Linked DNA regions of Homo sapiens: regions 2 and 3 are each linked to region 1. The links are contacts of gene promoters, found by promoter capture Hi-C in blood cells and fetal thymus (Javierre and others, 2016). All regions are on one chromosome and are shown on one strand. Each heading gives the region's core, a stretch centred on a gene start or on the middle of the fragment in contact. The rest is flanking DNA. Distances are from core to core; before and after follow the strand shown.

Region 1 (2,700 bases), core at 16-2,515:
GGACAGTTGCAGCTCTAGAAAATCCACTCCCAAACCCCTAAGTGAACTACATACTCTATCAATTTGTAGCTTCTACTCTATCTCATTTGTACCATTGTTTCACAATTTGGATAGCATTAGAGTTAATAAATTTTATTTTAGCAACTCTGCTCCATGGGTAGTTTCTGAAATAAAAATACAAGCAAAAAAAAAAAAACTTTCCTAATAACACTGGTTCTACAGTATAAGCTCTCCCTCGAATGTCTAATAGAGCTTTCGTAGAAGTGAGTGTTCCTTGTAGGAACGGTGAGTCGAGACTGGAGGTAAGAACTAAGACGTTCTTAAACCCTACTACGTGCTGGAATCCTGAAGTGCCTGCCATCATTCAAACTTAAGCACTAACTCTCTAGAGAGACACTGCCATTCATACCACAGAACGAGAAGGCAGTGGCGATCCTCAACGGCTACATGTCACTGCCTGGTGAGCACTCTTCCCTCAGACCCCATTCCCAGAAGCTCTGCCTCGATTCCCCAGGGGTAGGCGAGCTGGCTGCCCGAATTCCTAAGCGTTACCGGGGAGATGTGAGGGCCTCCGGGGGCGGGAAACCTCAGGCCAGGCGCGCGCTGGCCCGCTCTACGGGGTCTCTCGGGAGCGCTTTGCAGGGCGGATGACTGACGGGCCAGCTACCTGCCTTCCTGAGCCTGCAGAGATAAACAGCCTATCCTCCCTGTGCACACAGGCCCCGAGGGCGGGCAGGTCTCCAAGCGCAGCACAACTGCCCCAGGCCCGACGCAGCCACCTGCCCGAGGGCTCCCTCCCCACCAGGCCATCCCTCAGCCGGTCCTCCTCCGACAGCGAACAAGGAACCCCGGAGGCGCGGAGGCGTCTCGCCGCCACCCGGCGGCGCCTGCCAGAGGCCCTTCGCGATGTCCGCAAGCAGAGAAAGCCCTGCCCTCCCAAGCCCCGGCTTCCCCTAGGCCCCTCGACACTTGTAGTGTCCTCACTTGCGGCCCCTGACCCGGGGCTGACCGGTTCGTGACTCTCCTGCCAATCAGAGACAGAGTTCTTCCGGCCAACCGGCCAATCACCGCGCGCGGGTGTCCGCTTCGGCTTTTCGGCCCTTCGGCTCTTCGGCTTGTCGGCGTTCGCGGTTGTTTGGCCATCCAGTGCCTTCAGCAGCGCCGCTAAAGCGCAGTTCTCGTTGGTGTAACTTTTTCTTTTTTTTTTCAGCCACTTCCGGCTCCTGCGTCGCTCCGGAAGCCTGCGAGTTCCGGAAGCCTTGGTAATCCAGATTCGGCTAGGAAAAGACAAGCTTTCCAGAGAATGTTTCAGAGAAAGTTACGTGGAGCGTGGGCGTTTCGCAGACTCCTAAGGTCAGTGTCTGCCCTAGAGAGCCGGAGTGCAAACCCGAGGTCTTGTTTTCAGCTGGGAGGTCGTGGAGTTTCACGACCTTGTAATTGTCGCCGTTTGCTTTTTTTTCCCTGTTTATTGGCTTCCTGTCTCCCTGGAAAAGGCAAATCAAAGCTGCTGAATTTTGGGAAAGGCAGTGAAGCAAACCTAAACTCCTAAAGATGTTTTTAGGATCGCGGCATTAAAAATAAACACACACACAGCTGCAGTTGAGCCCCTCTGCATTCCACGTAGTAACTTAAGAGACGAACTTCGAAATCTTTTTCTCTCATTTGGCGGTCGTGAAGATATTTACCTCTTATAAACGGCTTTATAAAGAATTGAGGATCCAAACTTTACTTAATATCTGAAAGTTCATGTAAAGTGTTATATGTAGTACAAAAAATTTGAGTGCTTAGTTTTCTAACACTGTTGAAAGCGCACGTAAATGCAGTTTGGTTTTCTTATGGAGGAAGAGATAATGAAAAGTTTCTGATAAAATTGCTTGCGATAAATTAGTTATATTTCACGTTGACTTTTGATAAGAAATCTGAATGTGAGAATTGTTAACATTTTTTCCTGGGTTCTTAAATTAAAAATCGTTGTTTGTTTATTTATTGAGGTACCATTTTCCAAATTTCCCACATTTAGTGAAAGGGCTTTTGGCAAAATGAGCAAGCTGTTGAACGTTCAAGTCTAACACATTCTGTTAAACTTCCGTGATGCCCCTCGGAAATATTTTATCTTGACGTTTCGGACAATTAAATGATACTTGGGCGCTCACAACACCGCAGCTTGTAGTCTAAACACCTTCCCCTAAAGTGTTACCTTTACTTAATCCTGAACAGAATGAACTTGGGGTGGCTCTTTTAACTTATCTGATCTCACCTATATTATCAATTACTTGTTTCCAGAAAGATTACAGTTGAGTGATCTTGAGCCAGAAAGAGATTTGAAAGAATTATTTACAGAGTCAAAAAAAAAAACCCTTCATATTTTTTTCTTAAAAAAAAAAATAGAAGTAACAGGACATAGAGCGAATACTAGACTAGTAGACTGAAGAGTATTAGACTAAATCAAGACAGTTGGATTCTAGTCCTGACTCTAGTTGCCTTTGTACAATTTTACCTCTTGGCCGTATTCTCCTTATTTTTAGAAACTAGTGTTAGTACTCAAGCTGGGGTTTTAAAACTGTTCCATAGGAGAACTTGTGTAGAAATTTTCTGGAGCCGTGCAGGGAGAGACAAAGCAAGCCCACCCTCAGGTTTATTTTAACAAGAGCAGCCATTTAGGTGTTCCGCTTGAATAACAAGGTTCTTGTTAAGAAGATT
Region 2 (2,700 bases), core at 91-2,590, 1.2 Mb before region 1:
AAGAGAGGGAGGAAAAGAAGGGGGGCAGGTGTCACACTTCAGTGACACTGAAGTGTGGGAAATCACTCATTACCATGAAGACAGCACCAAACCATTCATGAGGGATCCACTCCCATGACCTAAACATTTTCCACCAGGCTTGCCCTCTAACATGGGCAATCACATTTCAACATGAGATTTGGAGGGGAGAAAACATCCAAACCACATCAGGTATCATCTGAAGGCTTGACTGGGGGAAAACTGTGTCCAAAGCGACTCATATGACTGTTGCAAGGATTCAGTGGCTCTTCGGTTATTATATGGAGGGCCTTGGGTCCTTACTGAAAATTGGCGAGAGGCCTCCCTCAGTGCCTTGCCATACGGGTTTCTCCACAGACCAACTCACAATATGGCAAAGTGACATTTCATTACTTTATCACATTCTCTGCACATTCTGTTCACTTGAAACAAGTTACCAACTCCAATCTTCACTCAAAGGGAGGGGATTATAGATGAGCATGAACACAAGAAGGCAGGGATCACTGGAGTCATCTAAGAGACTGATCACCACACCAGTCATGATTGAGAAGCACTCTCTTTACTATGCTGCACCAATAGTAACATGTTAAATATAACACTGCCTTTTTTTACTGGCTACATTTTTTGATATATTTTCTATAATGTCTATCATAATTGTTTTCCAAGGATCCCTCATCTGTATAAATTTGGTCAAAATTTTAGCATTTTAAATGTTGTCTGGAGCAAAGTGACTCATGGTGTGACTGGAAAATGAGAGGTCTTGTTTATTTTTATCCTGGATGCATCATGTACTTACTATTGTTGACTCTAGCTTAGAGAGTTGCCAAATAGCTGGTTCTTTCTCATTTATAAAAATAAGGCAACAATTTTAGCTTACCAATGGCGGGGCTATGAATAACAATTTTTTAAAGCACTTCTCTGTAGTGCTTTGAAATCACCCATGTGTTCATATTACCCACAACTTTTAAACAAAAATAAAAACAACTAAAGCCACTTTTGCACTTGGGGTTCATAGATATATTTTAACAATTTACTGGAAAGAAATTCTTAATTCCATTTTCTTAATCTTCAGGTAACATTTACAGTGAGCTTGGGGATTCCTATTAGTACATGCACTTCATTTGTAAATAAGAAGCATTCTAATAGAATAAATAATCAATTCAGTATAATTAACATGAACAGAGAACCAGCTTTTTAAGCCTGGTACTCCATACTCTGTCACTCCATTTTGTCTTAAATATGAGTCTTTTAGACAGTTGATGACAGCTATCTCAACTTGGAAATGCAATACCAACATTTATTGAATTGAAAATAGACCCTTCAAGCCATATTTTGGCATTGCAAAGTTAAAATTAGACCCCACTTCAAACAGGTTTTTTAAATGAGGAAGCATCCCTAACAAAGGACCTTGCATCCCACTGAACATTGGACCATTATGCTAATTGGAATGGCCACTGTATAAGTCTTGGGTGGATCTGAAGAAAGTGGTAGTTATTCTTGCCTGAGTTTCCAACCACACTCATTTTGCTAAATTGCATTTTCTTTTGGAAAGCAGTCTGATAGGCTACAAGTGTTACTAATTCTATTAAATACTCCCTTCTTTCATATTTAATGATCAAAAAACTTAACCACTGTCTATTTTAAAATGATGTATTTCCATAAACAGATTGAGATACTTGAATAACCATCTCATGGTAAATAGTTTTTCTTGAATGACCACCCTATTCCTTTTAATTTTTCTAAGCTGAAATTCTAAGTTATTCAAATGGTAAAATTATGTTTAGAGAAATATGTAATTATATAGTTGGTTGGGATAATTCACTTTGAAAATTGACAGGGATGATATATATGCTACAGGCTCAAATCTAACCAGTCTTCTAACAGTGTTTGCAACATACATATTCATTCCCACTCTTCCTTCCTCTTTTCCTTCTGCTTTTCAAGTGTCTGTGATCCAGAAGGACTTGTCCATATCCTCTTGAGGGAGCATGTCGAGAAAAGCAAAGCTATGGCAGATAATTGGAGACAAGTTATTTTTAAAAGCCTAATGAACCTTATTTTTATCTACTGATGGAGCCCTTTCAAAAATACACACACGCACACACACACTCTCTCTCTCTCTCTGTGTGTCTGAGAGAGAGAGAGAGAGAAATATTTGCCAATATAATATGTAACACAGAGGGAAATTTTAACAGGTTTCATTTTATACTATATTACTGATCAAAAATGTCCAGACTTTTATCTTTCTTCCATAATTATGCTTCTTTTGTACTGTTTCCACATTTTCCCCACATTCCTTCTTTTTCTTTACTTAAGGTAATTCTCCACCAACATTATAACATTTTATTTTTGTTCATCATTCTCCATTTCTTCAACAGGGTAGATCAATTAGGGAGAATTTATAATATACATGATACGGTTTGGCGTTGTCCCCACCCAAATCTCATCTTGAATTATAGCTCCCATGATTCCCATATTTCATGGGAAGGAGCCAGTGAGAAGTAATTTAATTATGAGGTAGGTTTTCTCATGCTGTTGTCATGATAGTGAATAAGTCTCACAAGATTTGATGGTTTTATAAAGGGCAGTTCCTCTGAACACACTCTCTTGCCTGATGCCATGTAAGGCATGCTTTACTCCTTCTTCACCTTCCTCCATGATTATGAGGCCTCTTCAGTCATG
Region 3 (2,700 bases), core at 42-2,541, 1.2 Mb before region 1:
TTGTTTCCATAAACATCTTTCAGACTCCTTTTTTAGTATGCAAAAAAGCTATAATGTCAATGTCTTGTTAGCCAAAATTATTATGATTTTATGATTTTTGCCTATGATAATCCTGTTTTTTAGAATGATATTTATTTGAAGGAAAAGTATTAGTTTACAACAGGTAACTTTGTATATATATGTATATATTTAATTGAAGCCAATTTATTGGATATTTTTGGTTTAAGAGTTGCAAATATTAAGAAGCTTCAACAATCTCAAATGCTTATATTGCCTTTTGTATTCCATTTATTTTATGTTTTGAGGATGATTGAAAGTAAAAGAGTTTAACTCACATATGCTACCTAAAAATTAACTCCTTTGTTCTCTCCAGGCGTGGTGGTGCACATCTATAATCCCAACCCTTTGGGAGGCTGAGGTGGGAGGACTGCTTGAGTCCATGAATTTGAGACCAGCCTGGGCAACATAGTGAGACCCTGTCTTTATAAAATATAAACAAAATTAGCTGGGAGTGGTGGTGCATGCTTATAATCCCAGCTACTCAGGCTGAGGCAGGAGGATGGCTTGAGCCTGGAAGGTTGAAGCTTCAAGGAGCTGGGATCATGCTTCTGCACTCCAGCTCGAGTGACAGAGACTCAACCTCAAAAACAAAAACAAAAACAAAAACAAAAACAAAAACAAAAAAAAGACCTTTGTTCTCCCCTTCAGTGTGTTTCTGTAGTGCTCACAGAAAGAGCAGTGCCTTTAAAAGCATATTCTGTTATTTTTTCTGAAACTTCGTTCTTGATAGACTCTCATACCAATTTGAAATCCATTTACATACATATACCCTAATTTTGTAACTGTTGGCCCCTCTGGTTTCTTCATATACTATATTTAATAAATCCTAACTTTCATGTGAGAGGGCTGTATACTAAAGAATTTTAGAACCTTAAGTGACATTTTAACAAGTACTTTTCTGTATTTTTTTAATCCCTTTAACAAGTAGTTATCCAGCCTTCTTTTCCATATCTGGTTAAATACTAATTAAATATTTAAAATGTGTAAGAACACTCCTAGGTTCTGGGTACACTGCAGTGAACAAATAAACTAGTTCTCTATAGTCATAGAACTTACGTATCTCTCATCTCCCTCTCTCTTTCTCTTTCTTCCCCCCCATGTGCTCAGTTTGTTGAAATCTTGCTCTCAGCATTTGATTACAGACTTAAAAAAGTACATTTACATTTAGTGTTCTAATTTTTGATATTTGGACATTTGTGTTGCCTACTTTTAAATTTTTATTTAACAAATATTGGATATGGCACAGCCATAGTTGCTGAAGAATCCTGCTTACATTAAAACATTTTTAAAAGGAGCAGATGCTTTTTTTTGTCTGTTTGCAGTAGAACAGCCTTTCATTTTCCCATGATAGATACTCCATTGCTTTCAATTTGAAATTCCCGATAACAGACAGCATGACCAAATGAATACATCCTTTTAAGATAATCTCATCAAACCTTATTTTCCTCAGAGGAAGATAATAATTTGCTCTCAGGGCTGTTTAAAGATTAAATGATATGAAGTAGATGCAAATTCCTGGCATATCACTGAATGAAAATTCTTTTTCCCTCTTTAATTTACTTGGTGGATTTTACCTATAGCAACTATTCATTCATTGTTCTAGTTCTGCTCCTTAGAGTTGTACAGAAAAAAAAATCCTTTATCCATATATAAATTATTGACATATTTTACAGTCATCTCTTCTTCTCACTAAATTTCTCTAAATCCTTCAATGTGTTCTTAAACTCTACAGTAAAGCATTTACTCACCAGACACAGATAGGTTGCATCTGATAGGACTTTAGTTTGTTCATGTCAATGTGGTTCAGTCACTGAACACAATGTTCTGGAAGTGATCTGACTTATGCAAGGTAAAACCAGTTGATCATTTATCTCATTTTAAGCCATTGGATGTCTATAAGGATAACCCTGGTATAGACACACTTTTTAAATAAGCTTAGACACTCTCTTGACACATTTTGAATTACGGTCAATTAATCATCTTTCATTTAGTTTTATCTGAATTTCTCTGAAGACTATGCCTTGTCATCCTTTTATTTTCACGATTGGTTTTTGAAACAAAGAATATCTTTATATACAATACATTTCAGTTCTTCATTAACCAATCCCATATATTAGTTGAATACCCACTATATGGCAACTGTAGTTTAGGCAATCCTCTGCATACAGAGTTTGAAAAGAAAATTAAGATACAGGCATGCCCATGTGGACCTCACATGCAAATAGAAGAATGGATGTGTAAAAAGCTAAAATTGGTGCTGTAGATGTTCACTTTAAGTCTCAAAGACTCCAACCACTGACATGCCTCTGAGAATTTGAGAAGGCTTGGACTGAATGCTGAGTAAAGTGTATAAAGGGGTCAGCAAAAATCCATGGTGGAGTGAAGTGAGGTAAGGATGGGGCATACTAGGCAGAGAATGAAGCATGGATGAAGAAAGAAGAGGTGAAGTTCAATTTGGATGTGGTTTGGGTACATGGCTGTTACTTGAGAGGAAATGATCAATCCAGAAGGTGAAGGGGCTTGAATGACAAAATAAGTAAGTAAATAAATAAGTGGCCCATATTTACCTGTGGGAGTGTGCTAAAAAGAATTCAAGGTCATGAAGACATTATTTAACCTTTTAGAATATTTTATATAGCT

Evidence for each region. The method cuts DNA at HindIII sites, captures the fragments that hold promoters and counts their contacts. A CHiCAGO score of 5 or more calls a contact.
Region 2: a fragment that was not itself captured here is called in contact with the fragment with the promoter of PEX2 in region 1 in 1 of 17 cell types (monocytes); the score reaches 8.6 in monocytes.
Region 3: a fragment that was not itself captured here is called in contact with the fragment with the promoter of PEX2 in region 1 in 2 of 17 cell types (megakaryocytes and monocytes); the score reaches 8.0 in megakaryocytes.

What each region holds. Positions count from the first base shown.
Region 1 is chr8:76,998,643-77,001,342 of GRCh38, reverse strand. It overlaps PEX2 (peroxisomal biogenesis factor 2), which reads left to right and starts at 1,265. Exons shown (of 4, transcript NM_000318.3): 1 at 1,265-1,353. RefSeq lists an enhancer at 976-1,270. The HindIII fragment of the contact is 1,935 bases long and covers 1-1,294 here.
Region 2 is chr8:78,221,180-78,223,879 of GRCh38, reverse strand. No RefSeq gene overlaps it. Among named protein-coding and RNA genes, the nearest start is that of PKIA, 290 kb to the left of the region's middle. The HindIII fragment of the contact is 4,524 bases long and covers 1-2,700 here.
Region 3 is chr8:78,238,811-78,241,510 of GRCh38, reverse strand. No RefSeq gene overlaps it. Among named protein-coding and RNA genes, the nearest start is that of PKIA, 280 kb to the left of the region's middle. The HindIII fragment of the contact is 1,410 bases long and covers 587-1,996 here.